3 separate regions of the Homo sapiens genome follow, and regions 1 and 3 are each linked to region 2. The links are contacts of gene promoters, found by promoter capture Hi-C in human tissues and cell types (Jung and others, 2019). All regions are on one chromosome and are shown on one strand. The core of a region is centred on a gene start or on the middle of the fragment in contact, and the rest is flanking DNA. Distances in the headings are between cores, read along the strand shown.

Region 1 (3,600 bases), core at 422-2,921, 160 kb after region 2:
CTAATTCAACATGTATTAACTAAAAGCACTTTTCAAAGACACATCTTGTAAAATCTCAAAAACCACAATTCTGTGCATAGTAAACCCAAAAGGAGAATGCAAATATCTAGCCCTGAAAGTGATCACTAATTTGTGCCAAAAACCTAGATGATGTGCTGTTTTGTTTCACTGAATTCAATGTTTATTAACTAAGAGCAGTTTTCAGAAACACATGTTTTCAAGTCAGAAAACAATTCTGAGCACAGTAGTCTTACACAAAAAATGTGAATATCTAGCCGTCAGAGGTAAACACAAGCTTTCTGCCAAAAACCTATATATTATATGCTGTTTTTTTCACGGAGTTCCACATGTCTTGACATTGAACACTTTTTAAACACACGTTTTCTACAAGCTCCAAAAGCAACATTTCCAAGCACAGTTAGCACTTCCAGGAATGTATGCATACACAGTCCTAAATGCTAACAGCAAGATATGGCACACAAAATATGTATGATCTGCTATTTTGTTCACTGAATTCAACATGTATTAACTAAGAACATTTTTCAAAGATCATCTTGTCAAATCTCAGAAAACCTAATTCTGAGCATAGTAGGCCCACATTGAAAATGCGAATATCTAGCTCTAAAAGGTAAACACCAGCTTTGTGCCATAAACCTAAATGATGTGCTGCTTTCTGTCAATAAATTTAAGATGCTTTTACATGATCACTTTTCAAAAACACATTTTGTACAAGCTCAAATACCATTTCAGAGCCCAGTTAGCGCTTCTGGGAAGATATGCATGTACAGCTACAAATGCTAAAAGCAAGACATGGCACCCAAAATATAAGTTATGTGCAGTTTTCTTTTGCTGAATTCAACATGTGTTAACTGAGAGCAGTTTTCAAAAACACATCTCAGAAAACACAATTATCAAAAACACATCTAGAAAACAGAGCTCAGAAAACACAACCTCAAGCTTAGTAGGCCAACAAAGAAAATGCAAATATCTAATCATAAAGGGTAAACACAAGCGGTGTGCCAAAAACCTAGATGATGTTCTGGTTTCCTTCACTTAATTCTACATGGTATAGCAGTTCTCAAAGACGCAGCTTGTCAAATCTCAGAAAAAACAATTCTGAGCATAGTAGGCCCTAAAAGGTAAATGCAAGCTATGTACCAAAAACCTACCTGATGTGCTGTTTTTTTCTCCAAATTCAACATGTTTTGACATTGATTCATTTTTAAAAACACGTTTGTACACACTCAGAAAAAAACTAATAAAAGCCTAGTTAGAACTTTCAGGAAGATATGAAAATACAGTCCTAAATGCTAAAAGCAAGATATGGCACACAAATAATGTCTAATACACTGTTTTTTTTTTTTTCACTAAATTCAACGTGTATTAACTAATAGCAGTTTTCAAATACACAACTTGTCAAATCTCAAACAACACAATTCTGAGCATAGTAGGCCCACACAGAAAATGCAAATATCTAGCTCTGAAAAGTAAATGAAAGCTGTGTGCCAAAAATCTAGATGATGTGCTGCTTTCTTTCACTGAACAGAACATGTTTAGATATTGATCCTTTTTTTAAACAATGTTTCAGACAACTTTAAAAAAAGCATTTCTGAGCCCACTTTGTACTTTCAGGAAGATATGCATATACATCCCTAAATGCTAAAAGCAAGATATAGCACACAAATAATACATGTGCTGTTTTCTTTCACTGAATTTAGTAATGTATTAACTAAGAGCAGTTTAAAAAAACACGTCCTGTCAAATATCAAAAAACTCAGTTTTGAGCATATTAGGCCCACACAGAAAATGCAAATACCTTGCCCTAAAAAGTAAATGCTAGCTTTTTGCTAAAAAATTAGATGATGTGCTATTTTCTGTAACTGAACTCGTTCCATATGCTTCAAAGAAAATGCTAAACTGACACAGCTATAGATCAAACACTTGATGCATCACTTTCTTTCGACCCCCATGTCCTCACCGCCTGCTTCTTTGTTTGATCACCAATAAATAGTGTGGGCTCCCAGAGCTCGGGGCCTTCACAGCCTCCATACTAGTGTCAGCCCCCTGGACCCACTTTATGCACCGTTAACTTATCTTGTCTTATTCATTTGACTCCGCTGGACTTCGTAGCCCCCACAGTCTGGGATTGGGCCTGATCACCCCAACAAATAATGAGTTGATGGGCGCAGCAAACAAACATGGCACATGTATACCTATGTATCAAACCTGCACGTTGTGCACATGTACCCTAGAACGTAAAGTGTAATAGAAAAGTAAGAAAAAAGAAAATGGGTCTCTAAAAAGTGACCAACGTAGAAACATGTTGAGTTCAGTTACAGAAAATAGCATGATAAAACGTGTTTTTGAAAAGTGATCAATGACAAATTATGGCTGGGTGCAGTAGCTCAGATCTGTAATCCCAGCACTTTGGGAGGCCAAGGTGGCAGATCACTTGAGGCCAGGAGTTCGAGACCAGCCTGGCCAACATGATAAAACCCCATCTCTACTAAAAATACAAAAAATTATCTGGGCATAATGGCGCACACCTGTAATCCCAGCTACTTGGGAGGCTGAGACACAAGAAATCACCTGAACCCTGGAGGCAGAGGTTGCAGTGATCTGAAATCATGCGTCTACACTCCAGGCTGGGCCAAAGAGCAAAACTCTGTCTCCAAAAAAAAAAAAAAACAAAGCCACAGGGGACAAACACACACACACACACACACACACACACACACACACACAGAGAGAGAGCATGAGAGCAAGAGCTGGCAGGGAAGCACATGCCTATAGTCCAGCTACTTGGGAGGCTGAAGGGGGAGGACTGCTTATGCCCAGGAGTTTGAGTCCAGCCTGAGCAACACAGCAAGACTCCATCTCTGAAAAAAGAATTTTAAACAAAAAACACAGAAAGGCCTTCTCTTATCTTAGGACAACTTAGTAACACTGTGAGTTAAGTACAGAAGAGAGGAACACAATTAACTCACTTGTAAGATGGTTATGGTTTTCTTCTTTTGAATCCTTTTTTTCCACAGGTGCTTCTTGATACCGTGCAACAGAAAATAAATTAGGAGAAGCACTTTTTGAAGTTAAGACAAAATCTCCATGGGCAGTTCTACAGAAGTTGCTTTGCTTATGGGATAAAATGTAGGAAGTGTATGTTTCTTCCTGAGTTAGGTCCAGGTAGACGTATGATAGGAAGCAGCGTGTGGCTCTCTATCCAGTGGTGGCATTTCCTGGAGACCTGTGCTTCTGGCTCTGATCATCAGGCAGGAAACTCAAACCTTGCAATTAAGAAAAGCAACAAAGCTGATGACTTCCTTCAACATTTTCTCTTTTATCCCCAGTAGTGACTCCACCCCACAAAGGCTTCTCCACAGTGACAAAAGTATTTTTTCCCTTTATTAGGAAGTGATGTTTAACAAAATCATGAAATATTTATTTATTTCTTTATTTATTCATTTATTTATCTTTTTAAGACAGAGTCTTGCTGTCGCCGAGGCTGGAGTGCAGTGGTGCAATCTCAGCTCACTGCAACCTCCACCTCTCGGGTTCAAGCTATTCTCATGCCTCAGCCTCCCGAGTAGCTGGGATTAAAGG
Region 2 (3,620 bases), core at 430-2,929:
ACACATACACACACCATACACACACACCATACACACACACCACACACATACACACACCACACACTACACACACCATATACACACACCACACACCATACACACACACCACACACCATACACCACACACCACACATACACACACACACCACACACTACACAGACACACCACACATACACACACACCACACATACACCACACACACACACCACACAGACACACCACGCAGACACCACACACCACACACAATCTCAAGGGGATTTCAAATCCCTCAGACTGAATGTCTGTGGTAAGAGGTGGGTTCTAGGGGCAAGCTCTTGCGGGGAAGGGCCATAGCCGGCAGGACCCCGTGGCTTAAGGCTACTGACCAGATGGAGTTCTTTCTGAAACTCCTCTTTGTGATTTTTCTTTTTGAGTTCCAGGCAGTTGTTCTTCAGACCCCTATACTTCTCCTTGCCATCCCCCTTGTCTGTTTTCACGATGTCCTTAGTTCCGCTGAGCTCCACGGAGTAAATTTCTGGGGTTTTCTGAAAGAGAAGCCCAGGTGCAATATTGGCCCCAAATGGGGTTTCCGAAGAGGTGCTGAGCGCCCCTCTGCGGGGTCAGGACCTGCAGGAGTCAGGAGCCCCTTCTCCCTTTCCTTCCCTCCTCTGGGGAGGCCGGAGGGAGTCGGACAGTGGAGTCTCTCCCCCACCTCCCGCCGACCTTGGCTTCCTCTCCGTCCGTGTAGAGGGGAGGCGGGGTGGGCACAGGCCAGCCAGCAGCTCCTCAGGGTGACCCTTCTCTGGGTGGAGCAGGTGGGAAGTTACCCCCCCAACTCCTGACTGATGCCTCCAAGGAGCTGTGAGGTTTCCTTAGAACCTCGAGGTTCCTTAGGCACCTCGAGGTTTCCTCTGAGGTGTCCTTCCCAGGGGACACAACAGCTGTGCGTCCTGTTTCTTGGGGAGGAGGCACCCACTAAGCTTACGACCCTCAGTCCTGATCAGGGGGCCCTAACCGGAAGTCTTTTCAGACCGCAACGAATCCATGTCACCCCATCCTCCGAGTCGGAGCCCGCAGGTGCCATGGAGCTGGCCTAGGACCCCTTGGCCCCTTCTCGCTCCTCTGGACTGGCTTCTTTCCCCAGCCAGCCCCGGCGGCCGCACGGAGCCGTGGCGGGGAGTCAGAGAAGCGGTGCCCAGGCCGGGGGGCGCTCAGAGGAAAGGCGGCCTCCCCTTGCCCCGGGACGGGGCGTTTCTCCTCTTCGCCTTTTCCTCGCTTCCCGTCAGCCTGCTCCGGTCCCCGGGGCCTTGGCCCAGCGTCTCGCATCCTCGGCCGGCGCGGGGGCTGCACGCACCTGGTGCATGCTGGGCTGGTGGCGCCGCGGGCTGCGGGCGTGGAGCGCGGATCCGGGACCGCAGCGGCGGAGCGCACGGTGGGGGGCCTCGTGTGGCTGTGGCAGTGGCAGTGGCTGAGGTGTTGGCGGTGGAGATACCGGCGGCGGCGCGGGCCCTGCACGCACCTCCGCGGCCGATCGCCAGCCGCTGCACCGGGGAGGTGGCACCAGCCTTAAATGCCGCCCGCCCCGCCCACGTCCCCGCCAGGGCGCAGGCCAGCGGACGCCTCGGAGGGTAGGAAACCCGCCGGCGCGCGCGCAGGGAGGGGGACCGACAGCTAGGGGTCGGGAGAGTCCAGGATTGAGGACCCCCTGGGAATCCCCTTCCCTTTAGTAGCCGAACGCCAGGGGGCGGGGTCTCTAGGGGGCGGGTCCGGCATCCAGGTGAGTACAGCCCTGGTTCCGCTGGGCGCCCAGAGCCGGACCAGCTGCTCCGGCGAGCTCCCGGCACGCCCACGTCCTGTCCAGGCTTCCCTGAAAACCCACACATGCCTTTTTTTAAAAATGTAATTTGCCTACCAATAAATCAATTTATAAAAATGTGTATGCAGAGAAGGGGAAATTGCAGTTTCTAACAGCAACTACTGTTGGAGATGTCCCGGCTAGAAAAGGCCAATGTGTTTTTGAGAATGGATTTAGATAGGTAAATTCAAGCTTCCGAGAGAATTTGGGAATAACTGAGAGACTCTGAAGAGTAGCTGAATTAATTTGCCGGATCCAGATAAGAATTTGGAATTCTGAAACAATTTGGAGAGGGAATGGGGAGGAGAGATGAGAGGATTAGGGTCGGTGAGACCACAGGAACCTGGGGCCCCAGGCTGCGGGTGCGCAGGAGCGGAGGCTGTTGGCTGGACTGGGCTGGAGAGGTCTGTCTCCACCTATTTATGTCACTCCCAGCTGAGACTCTATACATGAAGGAGAAAAGAATTTCTGACCCTGAAAGTTGATGTGCATACTAAAGCAGTGGTTGTTTTATACTGCTAAGTTTGGGTTGGTTTGTTATGCAGCAATAGATAACTGGGACATGCTCCATGCTCTTAGTGCCCAGCATGAGTTTTTGCACAGGATAGAAAAGGTATTTTCCCCCTGACACTTGAAACATAATTACTCCAGATGAGAAAGATAGCCTGAAAACAATATATCAGAGAGATATTTAGCAGTTAACAGTGGAGGAAATCAAACACGTTCTTTTAAAAGAATGAATCGTGAAGTCTTAAAGTCAGTGAAGAATATTAATTAATGGAGAGGAACATAAAAAATAAAACCCACGAATAGAGTTTAGTAATCAGCACCTATTTAGAAGAACAATAAGAAATTGACATGATTGAAATATATGAAAGGGAGTAGAGATAAGTTTCAAAAGAGGGGGCACTTTATTGGGCCCTTGATGCTCTGCTAATAAGTTTCCATTTAGATAAGGACTAATAGGAGGGTGCTAAGTTTTATTCTTTTTGAAAGTTATATATCAAATATGGTAAGAAAGATTGTCATTTTGACCATATTTAAAATGACTAAGAGTGAGGAGTCCAGAGAAGCAGCAAAAGTAACAATCCCATCATGCAGTGACTAGAACATCTGGCAGAAAACATGAAGAGCATTGGGTACATTTAGAAAAGGTAGAAGAAAAACAATAAGCTTGTGCCCGGCCGGGCGCGGTGGCTCACGCCTGTAATCCCAACGCTTTGGGAGGCCGAGGCGGGCGGATCACGAAGTCAGGAGATCGAGACCATCCTGGCTAACACGGTGAAACCCCATCTCTACTAAAAATACAAAACAATTAGCCGGGCATGGTGGTGGGCGCCTGTAGTCCCAGCTGCTCGGGAGGCTGAGGCAGGAGAATGGCATGAACCCGGGAGACGGTGGAGCTTTCAGTGAGTGGAGATCGCGCCACTGCACTCCAGCCTGGGCGACAGAGCGAGACTCTGTCACAATAAAAAAATTAAAAAAAAAATAAGAAAAAAAAGCTTGTGCCCAATTCTAATTAGGAATTAATTATAACTTCCTGTTCCTTTCAGATGCTAAATTTCCATAATAATTTCAGAGCATGACTATAGTTGGTGGTGAGGGACAATTGGGAAAAGAAGCTTATTTTGAGGGAATTTGAAGTGTTAGCAGTTAGAGACGTGGTTTTGTAAAGTAGCAGTAGAGACAAAGATACTTTCTCATGGCATATTTGTGATCTTAGATTTTCCACACCTCTCTGTTCATCATGGCTTTCAAATGAGACTAAGGGAATGTGTTGTACCC
Region 3 (3,854 bases), core at 843-3,342, 200 kb before region 2:
TTAGGAAAATTAAGCCTGAAATAGTCTAAAGATAAGACATAGTCTAAACATAACAGAATTCTTCTAGGCTTCTATAGATGCTCTCACTGTATACCTGAAAAATAAAATGTGTTATTTTAAACCTTTGCTTAATGTAAATGTTCAATCTAGCTGAATCATTTCTTATGGACAAGATAAAAAGTTAGCTGGCTACCCATGTAAGTACGTGGTATGAGGATGGTGACTGCTCAGTAGTTCTATGTGCTTAGCAGATATTTATGTGCTTAAAATTATTTACAGTGGCCACTCTCTCCTGCTCTCCCTATGTACCCTGGTACTGTCAGAGTCATGACAGCCCATCCAGGCATCCTTACAGATAGGGGACCTCTTTGATACTAGTGCTGAATAGGTGAGAAGGGCCTATGAAGAAATCTGGTGGAGCGTTGCTGTCATTCCTTTGAGAAATCAAGGAAAATCCACGGGTGCTTTTCTGATCAATCTAGCATTCATCTCCACTAGTCCCATGCCTTATGCTATGAAGAGAATGAGAACTTACACTTAGGCACTTATTCATCTTTATCTGCAAGCCCCATTTCTACCAACGGCATATGAACTGGATGCTGTTCATCGTCATATAATGTCACTATCTGTTCTGGTGCTGGAGCCTAAAATTAAAAGATACAGTTGTCAAGAAAACAGTAATGTCTTTGCTGCCTTTTCCCTCTCATATCTGGCCATTCACACGGGTGTGAAAAGGTGTTCTCAGGGGCCTATTGATAATTTATGCTCTATGCTTCCAAAAGGCATCTGTAGTGGTTTCCTGCAAAATCCCATTCTTTCCATTCTTCTGCTCTCTTTAAATTCCTTCTCACAAGGTCTTCCTAAATGAAGCCAGTGGGCTTTGTCACCACCATCCCTTGTTACAGTTCATTTGCATTCCACACAAAGCATTATACCTTTATGCATAAACTGACTGTGATGGTTAATATTAGTTGTTAACTTGGCTGGATTGAGGGATGCCTCAATGGCTGGTGAAGCATTTCTAGGTGTGTCTGTGAGGGTGTTTTCAGAGGAGACTGATGCTAAATCAGTGGACAGAGAGGAAGACCCACTCTCTATGTGGGCAGGGGACATCCAGCTGGCTGGGAGACAGGCAGAAAGGGGGTTCTCTGCTCTCCTTTCCTTCCTAAGTGGGGGACACCTTTTCTCCTCTTGCCCTCAGACATCAGCCTCCAGATTCTTTGGTTTTTGGACTGTAGAACTTGCACCAGTGACCTCCCAGGGGCTCTTTGGCCTTGGACTAGCAGCTGCATTGTCAGCTTCCCTAGTTCTGAGGCCTCCAGACTGAGCCACGCTACCAGCTTCTCTGGTTCTCCAGCTTGCAGACAGCTATCATAGGACTTCACCTTTGACTGTGTGAGCCAATTCCCGTAATAAATCCTCTCATATATCCTATGGTTCTGCTTATCCTTATATACTGACAAAATTCTGAATATTAGAGAAGTGAAAAAATACCTATCTATAAGAAATACTTGCCCTTTTTTCACTGGGTTGAGAGAAACCCTGTATGAGCTATTCATACCACTCTGCACATGCAATAGCATATATACACAGGTTTTCAAAAAGCACTTTCCAGGAACCATGCTGACTGATTATGAGCTCATTTTTGTCATAGCCAGTGTGTCAGGAATCCCCAAATCATGGCACCAGGCAGGAATCACAAAGGAGGGAAGCAGGCTGAGCTGCACACCAGCAGTGAGGACTAGGTGAACTGAACATCACATGTTCCTATCTAAGGGGCTGTGGCTACACTTTCAGCTGACTGCCATTTCAGAGGGATGGGGAGACCCAGGATTCCTAGTTTTTAGAATATCTAATCAGGGCCAGAAATACAGACTTTTTGGGTAAAATTTCCAACTTTAAAACACTGTGTGCTAAATAAAACAAGGTACAGGCCAGATTCTGCCTGTGGGCTACTGTGACATGCTGAGCCTAAGAAGAAAACATTTACATTAAATGCAGTCTGGAGTTTTTTAGTTGACCTTTTGACACAGGTTCTACTACATCAAATAAGTAGTACAATTATGAGATTAGTACAATTAGCATAATTCAAGCCTTTCTATAATGAGCAGAACTACCATTCTTTCTTTCCCACTCTTCTTTTAGGATGCAGGTGAAATGCCACATTCCTGTTTTACTTATTCAATTAAATACTTGAGTGGCTTCTAAGTAGCAGCTCAAACACCCTTTCCTGTCCTCTCCAGATGCAAATAATCATTTCTTCTTACGCTTCCCCCACCCACAAAGTTAGCTATAGCTCTGTTATAGTACTTATTTCATTCAACCTCATACTTGTTTGCATATTTGTTTCCCCATTATAAGTTAATTATGGGATACTCATCTTGAGCATTTTATTAATTACATAAATGATATTTTATATCACCACAGGGGTAAGCAGTTTGTTAAATATAAACTAAGACATTTTAACAAGCCTCAAAATTAAGCTTTATATGTATATATAAAGCTATACATATAAACTATATCCTATATAGCTGTATATGCTTTAGTATACTCTCGCATGTAGACGCTGCATAGAAACAAACACTTTACAAAGTATCGACACAGAAATAGCTTTACAATAATTTTGGCTACTTGAGACACTTACCATGGACACAGCATAGAGTTGTTTTCCTTGAAGACAGTCTATCATAGCCCACAGTGCCTCCATGCTCCATTTGGGACAATATGGTATTCTTGTCTCCCCTAGATCCCTTAAGGGAGGTTTAAACCCTGCCAAGAGAACCTTTATGGCTCGAGCTGGATACCGCATAAGATGAGAAGGAATTTGGCACAGTCTGTCACAAAAGAAATTCTTACATTAAAATTCTCTTCCGGCTGAAACTATCCAATTCTTAGAAGAAAACATAGGGGAAACGCTTCATAACATTGGATTTTGCAGTGATTTTTTTGGATACGACACCAAAAGCATGAGAAAAATCAGATAAAATGAGAAAAATCAGATAAAATGGACTTCCTAAAAAAATTAACTTCTGTGTATCAAAGGACACAACGGAACAAAAAGGCAACCTACAGAATGGGAGAAAATACACATAAACACGGACATTACTCTAAAGATCTACAAATGACCAACAAGCACATGACAGGATGTTCCACGTCACTAATCATTAGGGAAATGCAAGTCAAATCCAAAGTGAGACTCCACCTCACACCTACTAGAATGGCTATTATAACACAACAAAATTACAAGTGCTGGTGAGGATATGCAGGAATTGGAACCTTTGCGCACTCTTAGTGAGAATGTAAAATGGCGCAGCCACTATGGGAAACAGCATGGAGGTTCCTCAAAAATTAAGCATAGACCATATGATCCAGCAGTTCCATTTCTGGGTATATACCCAAAATAATTGAAAGAAGGTACTCAAAGAGATAAATGTATACCCGTGTTCGCAGAAGCATTATTCACAAGACCCAAAAGCGGGGAGCAACCCAAGTTCCACCTTCCAGGGAAGGGATAAATAAGATGTAGTATATACTGTATGAGGGGGCTTCAAAAAGTTCATGGAAAAATGAAATTAAGATGAAAATAAAAAATGTAAACTTTATTTCTCAACATAAGTTCCATCAAGATCATGACACATTTGTAAGCTATGGTAACAACCCTTTATTCCATCCCTTAAGAACTGAGGGTCCTGGGAATATAACCATGTCAATGTGATCTTTCTTACATTATTAACTGGACAAAAATGGGCGCCCTTTAAATACTTTGTAAGATTAGGAAACAAAAAACAAGTTAGAAAGGGCCAAATCAGAACTGTAAAGTGGATGCCTAATGATTTAGGTAAAACTCTTGCAAA

The links. The method cuts DNA at HindIII sites, captures the fragments that hold promoters and counts their contacts. A contact is called where the count stands out against the background at its distance.
Region 1: a fragment that was not itself captured here is called in contact with the fragment with the promoter of ATP12A in region 2 in 1 of the 25 tissues and cell types used here (dorsolateral prefrontal cortex).
Region 3: a contact is called between a fragment that was not itself captured here and the fragment with the promoter of ATP12A in region 2, in 1 of the 25 tissues and cell types used here (dorsolateral prefrontal cortex).

The regions. Positions count from the first base shown.
Region 1 is chr13:24,517,431-24,521,030 of GRCh38, reverse strand. It overlaps LOC105370117 (a long non-coding RNA gene), which reads right to left. Exons shown (of 3, transcript XR_941756.2): 2 at 2,988-3,284. Among named protein-coding and RNA genes, the nearest start is that of PARP4, 6.5 kb to the right of the region's middle. The HindIII fragment of the contact is 3,259 bases long and covers 42-3,300 here.
Region 2 is chr13:24,678,467-24,682,086 of GRCh38, reverse strand. ATP12A (ATPase H+/K+ transporting non-gastric alpha2 subunit) reads right to left here and starts at 1,679. Exons shown (of 23, transcript NM_001676.7): 1 at 1,335-1,679; 2 at 367-525. The coding sequence starts at 1,343. RefSeq lists an enhancer at 1-128 and a silencer at 1,322-1,631. The HindIII fragment of the contact is 3,620 bases long and covers 1-2,518 here.
Region 3 is chr13:24,875,977-24,879,830 of GRCh38, reverse strand. RNF17 (ring finger protein 17) reads right to left here. Exons shown (of 36, transcript NM_031277.3): 34 at 2,645-2,834; 35 at 536-644; 36 at 1-94. The coding sequence ends at 546. Among named protein-coding and RNA genes, the nearest start is that of CPAP, 45 kb to the left of the region's middle. The HindIII fragment of the contact is 6,934 bases long and covers 1-3,854 here.